2 separate regions of the Homo sapiens genome follow, and region 2 is linked to region 1. The links are contacts of gene promoters, found by promoter capture Hi-C in human tissues and cell types (Jung and others, 2019). All regions are on one chromosome and are shown on one strand. Each heading gives the region's core, a stretch centred on a gene start or on the middle of the fragment in contact. The rest is flanking DNA. Distances are from core to core; before and after follow the strand shown. Region 1 holds the start of OR5H1 (olfactory receptor family 5 subfamily H member 1). Region 2 has its middle 8.1 kb from the start of OR5AC2.

What was found. Contacts are between HindIII fragments. The study calls those that stand out against the background at their distance.
Region 2: a contact is called between a fragment that was not itself captured here and the fragment with the promoter of OR5H1 in region 1, in 2 of the 25 tissues and cell types used here (adrenal gland and hippocampus).

What each region holds. Positions count from the first base shown.
Region 1 is chr3:98,127,587-98,133,235 of GRCh38, reverse strand. It overlaps OR5H1 (olfactory receptor family 5 subfamily H member 1), which reads right to left and starts at 2,515. Exons shown (of 2, transcript NM_001005338.2): 1 at 2,386-2,515; 2 at 1-556. The coding sequence starts at 538. The HindIII fragment of the contact is 17,473 bases long and covers 1-5,649 here.
Region 2 is chr3:98,092,405-98,098,053 of GRCh38, reverse strand. No RefSeq gene overlaps it. Among named protein-coding and RNA genes, the nearest start is that of OR5AC2, 8.1 kb to the right of the region's middle. The HindIII fragment of the contact is 3,265 bases long and covers 1,233-4,497 here.

The DNA.
Region 1 (5,649 bases), core at 1,266-3,765:
CACAGTAAATGTGATGTACTATGTTGGAGTTACAGAAGGTTAGTCTGAATAAAAATCCTTCATGGATTAAAGCATGAAGAATACCACCTACATATGACAAGATTAATAGCCGGATGCACAGTCCATTGGTCATAATGGCTGGATAAAGTAAAGGTTTGCATATGGCTACATAGCGATCATATGCCATCGTTGCCAAGAGAAAACATTCCGTGGTTACACTGATTGCAAACGAAAAAAACTGTATCTTGCATTCAGAGAGAGATATCATCTTACTCTTAGCTAAGAAGTTATTCAGCATCTTTGGGGTCACTGTGGATGATATCCAAGCATCCACAAAAGCTAAATTCCCAAGGAGTAAGTACATTGGGATATGAAGGTGAGGGTCTTTCCAGATGACAGCAATCAGACCAAGATTCCCCATGATGGTGATGAGATATATTACCAAGAATGCCAGGAACAGGGGTATTTTCCACTGTGGTTGATATAAAAATCCTGTGAGAACAAACTCTGTCAGCAATGTTGCATTTTCCTCTTCCATGTCCTCACAGCATGCCCTCTAAAATAAAATGCAACAAATGAAAGGGAACATTTGCAATGGCATTATCAGTTGAAATTGGGGAAGAGGTGCTGAAGGAAAACCTAAAATGATCAGAACCCTCTCAATTTTTTGATCAGTCCTATAGCTGATGAATCTCTATTTGTTGCAATAAAGACATGAAAAAATGATATATTTTGGTTTGAAACTGTGCAGTAATTAGCAGATTTAGGTAAAACAAGAGGCATTCTCTGTATGCACAACATTTATATGGACACTATTGAGTGCAGTAGAAAAATTGTTTGACTGGCATATGATACAATGTCAACAGGAAAGATTTTTGTACGGTCTGAATTAAAAATAAATAAAATAAATGCCATGTGAAGTATCTTAAACTTTATTCTTCATACAATAAGCATGTGCCAAAAATTTTAAGATGGGAAATTACATCCTAATTTTTTTTAATTTAGTTTTTGATAGTGTAGAAAATATGCTGCAAGAAGAAGAAACTGTACTCAGGGATATTAATTAGAAACTTGTTAGTAAGGCCCAGGCAATCCCAAATCACATTACACATAAAAATTATCTGAGTGAGTTTTTATGAAAAATATGTTATGAGGTTTTAATGTAGAAGTTATTTAAGGAATTAGGTCTGGGGATCTGCATTTTGAAAATACCCTCCGGGGGATTCAAATGCATGTTAAATGTATGGTCTTGGTGTGATATGACATTGAAAGAGACAGTAAGACAAAGAAATAGATTCTAAAGAATTCAGAATGTAGAGTCTCTAGTATTCTGTGACATATTTTGTAGGCAGTAAGTGGTCAGTGAAGGAGAGAGGAGTCCCTTGGTGACTGGGAAGATGGATATTAAACATTGAGAACTCAGGTGTGCTGACAAGTTTTTGGAGTGAGCATCATCTGGACAACTAGATGTGTTCCAATCAGTAATATGAGCCTATTAGAGCTCAATAGAAATGATTGCTTGGATTCATTGTGGTAGTCAAAGGCAGTCAAAGGCATAGTTAAAGATGATGCATCCTTGGAGTGTAAAACAGAACCAAAAGGAATGGCAAGAAAATCAACTTGAGCAAGTTATATTAAGGAGGTAACAAGGTGGACATATGTCCTGTAAATGGCCAAGGTGTGATCTCCTTTTTTGCCATCGAAATCATAGTGGCTGTCAGAGGTAACATACTGCCAAAAGAACTAGAAACTCATTTTCCCATTTTTCTTACATCTAAAGTGAAGGGACATGATCTAGGATGGCCAATTAAATACACTGATCCTACATTTGGAATATGGAGAGAGGGACAAAAGATATTGGTTTCAAGGCAGCCAAAGCCAAAATACCAGGACTTTACTTAATGCAACCTTTATTCACATCAACAAAATTTACAGTGTGAGCTCTCAAATTATTGTCAAACATGAGTGTAAGGATACAGGAGTTAATATGTAAGTGACTCACCTTAAAAGTTTTAATTGGAGAATGTGGTTGATTCAGAGGAATGGGTATTTATATCAGAATAATTCCAAGAAATAATTCTAAGAATCATTATTATCTGAATCTTTAAACCAAGTTTTAGTTGTTTAATGCCCTAATTTATATAAACTCATCATAATAAGATTAACAAAATAGCAAAATATTAAAGGAAAAATTCAGTCTTATAACTCTTTATCCATATTAGAGTCATAAAACTAAAATATAAAAATAGTCCAGTCAGAGTCATCCAGTTTCTGACTTTCTATTATGACAACTTGTTACCCAATCTAAAATTTTAATGAATTAAATGGCATTATCAACATTTCTATAAATTATAATAAAAATTAGAGAAGTTATTTCTTCCTTACCCATATATTGAAGGAAATTGTGGATATCCTTTAAACACGTTGTGCTTTCTAAACAAAAATACATACAGTAGCACAGCAATGTCAATAATACAGGTAGCCATTCATGGCATATTCATTCTTTTTGAAGGTTTCTTTTTCCAAGCATAGAAAAATGTTGTTTATTAAATATGCTTTGAGCACATAAATGACCCAGTTGTGCCACTAGGGTCTTTTGCCAGAAGAGAAAGGAATGAAAAACTGAAATTCTCATAACAGTGTCAGAGGACTCCCTGTAGGACAAATTGAAGCTGTTCTAATGGGCATTGTGCATTTGCACAAGTGTAAGTTCAGGTTGTCCCCAAGGGCATTACAAACTTCTGGAATCACAAACATCATTTCATGGTAGACACTTCTAGTTTTAACAATTGAAATAACACTTTATGTTACTATTTACCACCATGGATGACACTTCTGGCATATTTGTTCAAACTTTAGTTTATATGTAAAATTTACTGTTAGTGCTTTAATTAGTATAGTCTTATTTGAAGTAACCAAAACATAATTTTAATAAAGCCAAAGTTCTAGATCCTCTTTGGGAGCAACCTCAAATACAATTGTCCTTCCCATGCAAATTTCAGACATGCAAATTTTAGACATATATTTAGATCCCCCATTATAAGCTAAAATCCAATGGGAAATTTTACTAGGAAGAAGACAAAAAGCAAATGTAAAACAAAGCCAGGGAGTGGCTTGCAGTGGGAGGTGTCCTAGGTCTGTGCTTCTCAAACTATAATGCCTATGATTTTCCTAGTGATGTTGTCAAAACGCAGATTCTGTTTCAGTAATTCTGGGGTGGGTCTCTCAAGAGCCTTTATTTTTAACAAAGCAGTGCCTGTGGACATTTGCATCCAACAGGTCTTCATGGTGGGAAGACCTAGATTATCAGAAAGCCTTGATCATTGAAGAAACAACAAATAATAAATGTGGCTGGTATGCAAAGAGAGAATCAGGAAGGACCAAGTGTGTTCAGGGAGGCCAGCATGGGTGGGACCTTGTCGGGTAGTTCAAAGATATGTTCTTTACCCCAACTTACAGGAAAACCAATGAACTATTATTGAACGATTTTGAAAATGGTGATAGCATGTTCAGAATTTTCTTTAGAGCATTAACAGAATAACATGTTAAGGAGCATCCATTCAAAAAAGAAAACCTAATTTACCTACTTGTAATATTTATATTTCATATTTAAATAGTGACATGTACCTTTCTTGACAGCAAAAGTATTTATTAAAGAAATAAAATTGCCTGCACTTGGATTATGGATGGTGATATGGTTTGGATTTGCTGCTCTACCCAAATTTCATGTTGAATTCCAATCCCCAATGTTGGAGAGGGTCCAGGTGAGTGGTGATTGGATCATAGGGGTGGACTTCCCCTTTCGGTTCTCATGATAGTGAGTTCTCACAAGATCTGGTTGTTTAAAAGTGTGTAACACCTCCTCCCTTCTCTCTCTTCCTCCTTCTCTGGACATGTACAACATACATGCTTCCCCTTCAGCTTCCCCCATGATTGTAAGTTTCCTGAGGCCCCCTCAACCATGCTTCCTGTACAGACTGTGCAACTGTGAGTCCATTAAACCTCTTTTCATTATAAATTACCCAGTCTCTGATATTTCTTTATAGTAATGCAAGAACAGACTAACGGACTAACGCAAAGGTAAATTATTAATGTCCCTACTTCTGCTACACTGCCTTATCTCTGCAAGCCTTCAGCAATAGCTTCATAGGGAGTTTCTTATAATCGATTGACAGTGGAAGAGAAGACTCAGACCTGGATACAAATGGTTGTGCACCATATTCAGGCGGGTGGCTGCAGCACTACTGCTCCTTTCTGGGACATTTTGGAAGGACCATGGTGAAGGGAAATCCTCCCAGTTAGAAAAATTTTAACTGATGTACTTGGTTGTCCAATTTGCTTAAAAGGAGAAATAAATAAATGTGTGATTATGTATCAATTTATAGGCTATGACTAATGGTTAGGCTGGATGATCAGGGACTTGGAAGGAGCATAATTAGAATACTGGTGAAAAGGATATTTGAGAGAAGGTGCTTGGAGAGATGTCTCTAACTGGGTATAAATTATGTAGATATCTGCTATGGTTTGAATGTTTCCCCTCCAAAATTCAGGTGTTGAAACAATGGCCCGTGTGACAGTATTAAGAGGTGGGGCTTTTAGTAGGTGCTTAGGTCATAAGGGCTTCTTTCCTTGTTGATGGGCTAAAGCCCTTATAAAAAAGGTTTCACACAGCCTTCAGTTTCCTTGCTCTTCTGTCTTTCACCACATGAGAACCCAGTGTTCCTCTCCTCCAGAAGAGCTTTCAAGGCACCATCTTAGAAGTAGGGATGGGACCCCTACGAGACATCAAGGCACCATCTTAGAAGCAGGGACGGGACCCCTATGAGACATCCAAACCTGTCAGCATCTGGATCTTGAAAATACCAGCTCCTAGAGCTATAATAAAATAAATTTTCATCATTTATAAATATTTAGTCTCTGGCATTCTGTTATAGCAGCACAAATAGGTCAAGACAGAAATAGGTACCAAGAAGTGGAGTGTCCCTATAACAAATACCTAAAGTGTGGAAGTGTCTTGGAAAGAGGTAATGAGTGGAGGCTACAGCAGTTTTGAAGTGAATGATGGAAAAAGCCTGTATTTTTCAGGAATGAAGCATTAAGGACAAGTCTGGTTAGGATTCAGAAGAGAAGAGCGTTAGGGAAAGCCTCGTTCTTCTTAGAGATTACTAGAGTGGTCATGAACAGAATGTAGGTAGAAATACAGATGATAAAAAATATTCTGATGATGTCTTAGAAGGAAATGAGGACTCTGTTATTGGAAATTAGAGGAAACACTCTCCTTGATATAAAGTGGCAAAGTACTTGGCTGAATTGTGTCTGTGTCTTAGGACTTTGTGGAAGGCAAATCTTAAGTGCAATGAATTATAATATTTGGCAGAAAAATATTATAAAAATATTTGCTTATAAAAATATAAGCAGCAAAGTGTTGAGGGTTGCTGCATGGCTTCTCTTAATGGCTTATAGTAAATGTAAGGAGAGAGGAGCTATTGAAAGATGAGGTTTGTAATCAAAAACGAAGGAGAATGTAAAGATTTGGAAAATTTTCAGCCTGGCCAGGTAAAGAATAATAAAGTACGTTTCAAAAAGAAAGTCAATGGTGTGGCCAAGTAACCATTTGATCACGATATTAATATAAAAAGAAGAAAACCA
Region 2 (5,649 bases), core at 1,616-4,115, 36 kb after region 1:
AAACAGAAAAGCTGGACAAAAATTTATGAAATAATTGGTCTATAGGGATCAGTGATCAGCAAGGCAATTATGGAGCCAAGATCCAGAAGAGAAGGGAGACTAAAGTAGTTAACCTGTTTTTCCCCTCAAAGAATCATTGATATTCAAAGCAACAGCTAATAAACTAAGATGATGAGTACAGATTTTTATAGATAATGTAATATCTCCAAATATTGAAAATAGGCACACTTTATGATACTTAAGTTTTATTCCTACATATATGCCCAACAAAAATGTGTATACCTGTGTACCAGAAGACATTGACCAGAATTTACACAACAGCATTAAATGAAATAGCCAAATATTAGACAAAATCTAAAGTATTTCATACCACATGATTCCCATAATACTAAGTTCAAAAACATGCAAAACCAATCTATGGTGTAAAAGGCCAAAGACACAGGAACTAACTTAAAGCAATTCCTTTGATTAAATATGTAATAATTTAAGCTTTAAAAGTATAATTATTGCAATTGATTAATCACATCAAATATATTAAAATTTTTGAGTTTATAGTAACACCCCCTTCAAACAAATGAAAAAAATAAATAAACCTCATTGGTCACCTTGGGAAGTTGCTACAGCTCTAGCTAAATGTTTTGAAAACAGATAAGTGAAGGGAAAGAATCAGGAATTTATTCTGCCTCTCTTTCATGAACCATATTTCAGAAATCCAAATTCATGAGAGAAAGTTCTTCTTTGTAGAAGAATTATAGCTAATGAATGCAGAAGAATAGACTTGGGGAATTTCCATTTTGCAACCTCTGATGAAATAAAAGATCTAACCAATAATCATTAAAATCATTTTGTTTTGGGTTCGTAGAGAACTCAATAAGGGGAGGCTTGCAATGACAACATCCGAACTGTCAGCAGTGAATATCACTAAAATTGGAACTGTTAAAAACCATAATACAAATACAATATGCACGTCTTGTTTAAATCCTGGTTCAACCAAAGAACAAAATTTTTCAGGCAAATTGGGAATATTGAACACACACTGACATTAAATAATATCAAACAACTGTTATTAATTTTGCTGCATTAAATAACAATACTATGGTTAGTTTAAAAGAAAGTATTTGCTAACATTACATCCACTAGAAGATTAATAAGAATGTAGTAATCAGTTGTAGTTTTAACAATTCAGTCATAAAGTATCACTGCAGAAATTAGAAACATGTAATGCCACTCAGACTAAAAAAAAAATTAAGGTTGATACATGTACAAGTGGAAATAAATTTATCTCTTGTCAAATGATAACAAGAACTTAAGAGATTATAACAGACCATCAACAGCAAATTATAGGAATAGGGCCCTAATTCAAAATTTTTAAAAAATGTAATAGCAAATTAATTATAACTTATATAGTCATTGTTAAGTTAACCACCAAGATGGGAAATTTAATCAGAATCTCCATGATGCCAATAATATTCCTAAAGAAAATACATTCAAGTTGCTTCCAAGATGGCCGAATAGGAAGAGCTCCAGTCTGCAGCTCCCAGTGAGATGGACACAGAAGATGGGTGATTTCTGCATTTCCAACTGAGCTACCTGGTTCATCTCATTGGGACTGGTTGGACAGTGGGTGCAGCCCACGGAGGGTGAGCCAAATCAGGGCGGGGCATCACCTCATCCAGGAAGTGCAAGGAGTCAGGGGATTTCCCTCTCCTAGCCAAGGGAAGCCGTGACAGACTGTACCTGGAGAGATGGTACACTCTTGACCAAATACTGTGCTTTTCCCATGGTTTTAACAACCGGCAAACCAGGACATACCCTCCCATGCCTGGCTTGGTGGGTCCCCTGCCCACAGAGCCTTGCTCACTACTAGCACAGCTGTCTGAGATCAACCTGTGACACTGCAGCTTGATGGGAGGAGGAGGGTCTGCTATTGCTGAGGCTTGAGTAGCTCACAATGTAAACAAAGTGGCCGGGAAGCTTTAACTGGGTGGAGCCTGCCACAGCTCAGCAAGGATTACTGCCTCTCTAGATTCCACCTCTGGAGGCAGGGCATAGACCAAAGGCAGAAGACAGCTTCTGCAGACAAACACAACCCTGTCTGACAGCTCTGAAGAGAATAGTGGTTCTCTCAACATGGCGTTTGAGCTCCGAGAACAGACGGACTGCCTCCTCAAGTATGTCTTGAGCCTGACCCCCTGTGTATCCTGACTGGGAGACACCTCCCAGGAGGGGCCTACAGACACCTCAAACAGGCAGGTGCCCCTCTGGGACGAAGCTTCCAGAGGAAGGATCAGGCAGCAATATTTGCTATTCTTCAGCCTCCGCTGGTGATACCCAGGCAAATAGAGTCTGGAGTGGACCTCCAGCAAACTCCAACAGACCTGCAGCTGAGGGGCCTGATTGTTAGGAGGAAAACTAACAAACAGAAAGGAATAGCATCAACATCAACAAAAAGGGCATCCACACCAAAACCCCATCTGTAGGTCACCATCAAGACCAAAGGTAGATAAAACCACAAAGATGGGGAGAAATCAGACCAGAAAAGCTGAAAATTCCAAAAACCAGAGTGCTTCTTCTCCTCCAAAGGACCGCAGCTCCTCACCAGTAAGGGAACAAAACTGGATGGAGAGCGTGTTTGACAAGTTGACAGAAGTAGGCTTCAGAAGGTCACTAATAACAAACTTCTCTGAGCTAAAGAAGCATGTTCTAACCCATCGCAAGGAAGCTAAAATCCTTGAAAAAAGGTTAGACGAATGGCTAACTAGAATAAACAGTGTAGAGAAGACCTAAAATGACCTGATAGAGCTGAAAACCACAGCACAAGAACTTCGTGACGCGTGCACAAGCTTCAATAGCCGATTCGATCAAGTGAAAGAAAGGATATCAGTGATAGAAGATCAAATTAATGAAGTAAAGTGAGAAGGCAATATAAGAGAAAAAAGAGTGAAAAGAAATGAGCAAAGCCTCCAAGAAATATGGACTATGTGAAAAGACCAAATATACATTTGATTGGTGTACCAGAAAGTGACAGGGAGAATACAACCAAGTTAGAAAACACTCTTCAGGATATTATCCAGGAGAACTTCCCTAACGTAGCAAGGCAGGCCAACACTCAAATTCAGGAAATACAGAGAACACCACAAGGGTACTCCTTGAGAAGAGCAACCCCAAGACATATAATTGTCAGATTCACCAAGGTTGAAATGAAGGAAAAAATGTTAAGGGCAGCCAGAGAGAAAGGTCGGGTTACCCACAAAGGGAAGCCCATTACACTAACAGCGGATCTCTTGGCAGAAACTCTACAAGCCAGAAGAGAGTGGGGGCCAATATTCAACATTTTTAAAGAAAAGAATTTTCAACCCAGAATCTCATATCCAGCCAAACTAAGCTTCATAAGTGAAGGAGAAATAAAATCTTTACAGATGAGCAAATGCTGAGAGATTTTGTCACCACCAGGCCTGCCTTACAAGAGTTCCTGAAGGAAGCACTAAACATGGAAAGGAACAACTAGTACCAGCCACTGCAAAAACATGCCAAATGGTAAAGATCACTGACACTATGAGGAAACTGGATCAATTAATGGGCAAAATAACCAGCTAACATCCTAATAACAGGATCAAATTCACACATAAAAATATTAACCTTAAATGTAAATGGGCTAAATGCTCCAATTAAAAGACACAGACTGGCAGATTAGAAAAAGAGTCAAGACCCATTGGTGTACTGTATTCAGGAGACCTCTCTCACGTGCAAGGATACACATAGGATGAAAATAAAGGGATGGAGGAAGATCTACCAAGCAAATGGAAAGCAAAAAAAAAAAAAAAAAAAAACAAGGGTTGCAATCTTACTCTCTGATAAAACGGACTTTAAACTGACAAAGATCAAAAGAGACAAGGAAGGCCACACATAATGGTAAACGGATCAATTCAACAGGAAAAGCTAACTATCCTAAATATATATGCGTCCAATACAGGAGCACTCAATTCATAAAGCAAGTCCTTAGAGACCTACAAAGAGACTTAGACTGCCACCCAATAATAATAGGAGAGTTTAACACCCCACTGTCAATATTAGACAGATCAATGAGACAGAAGGTTAACAAGGATAGCCAGGACTTCAACTCAGCTCTGGTCCAAGTGGACCTAGTAGACATCTACAGAACCCTCCACCCCAAGTCAACAGAATATACATTCTTCTCAGCACCACATTACACTTAGTCTAAAATTGACCACATAATTGGAAGTAAAACACTCCTCAGAAAATGTAAAAGAACAGAAATCACAACAAACTGTCTCTCAGACCACAGTGCAATCAAACTAGAACTCAGGATGAATAAACTCCCTCAAAACCACATAACTACATCAAAACTGAACAACCTGCTCCTGAATGACTACTGGGTAAATAACAAAATGAAGGCAGAAATAAAGATATTCTTTGAAACCAATGAGAACAAAGAGACAATGTACCACAATCTCTGGGACACATTTAAAGCAGTGTGTAGAGGGAAATTTATAGCACTAAATGCCCACAAGAGAAAGCAGGAAAGATCTAAAATTGACACCCTAGGCCAGGCGCAGCAGCTCACACCTGTAATCCCAGCCCTTTGGAAGGCCAAGGTGGGTGGATCACGAGTTCAAGAGATCAAGACCATCCTGGCCAACCAACATGGTGAAACCCTGTCTCTAATAAAAATACAAAAATTAGCTAGGCATAGTGGTGCATGCCTGTAGTCCCAGCTACTCAGGAGTCTGAGGCAGGAGAATCACTTGAACCTGGGAGGGAGAGGTTGCAGTGAACTGATATCATGCCACTGTGCTCCAGCCTGGGCGACAGAGCAAGACTCTGTCTCAAAAAAATAAATATGTAAAAAAAAACAAAATCGACACCATAACATCACAACTAAAAGAACTAGAGAAGCAAGAGCAAACAAATGCAAAAGCTAGCAGAAGGCAAGAAATAACTAAGATCAGAGCAGAACTAAAGGAGATAGAGACACAGAAAACTCTTCAAAAAATCAATGAATCCAGGAGCTGGTTTTTTGAAACTATCAACAAAATAGATAGACCACTAGCCAGAGTAATAAAGAAGAAAAGAGAGAAGAATCAAATAGACACAATAAAAAAGTGATAAAGGGGATATCACCACTGATCCCACAGAAATACAAACTACCATCAGAGAATACTATAAACACCTCTATGCAAATAAACTAGAAAATCTGGAAGAAATAGATAAATTCCTTGTCACATACACCCTCCCAAGACTAAACCAGGAAGAAGTTGAATCTCTGAATAGACCAATAACAGGATCTGAAATTGAGGCAATAATTAATATTCTACCAACCAAAAAAAGTCCAGGACCAGATGGATTCACAGCCGAATTCTACCAGAGGTACAAAGAGGAGCTGGTACCACTCCTGAAACTATTTCAATCAATAGAAAAACAGAGAATCCTCCCTAACTCATTTTATGAGGCCAGCATCATCCTGATACCAAAGCCTGGCAGAGACACAATGAAAAAAGAGAATTTTAGGCCAATATCCCTGATGAACATTGATGCAAAAATCATCAATAAAATACTGGCAAACTAAATCCAGCAGCACATCAAAAAGCTTATCCACCACAATCAAGTCGGCTTCATCCCTGGGATGCA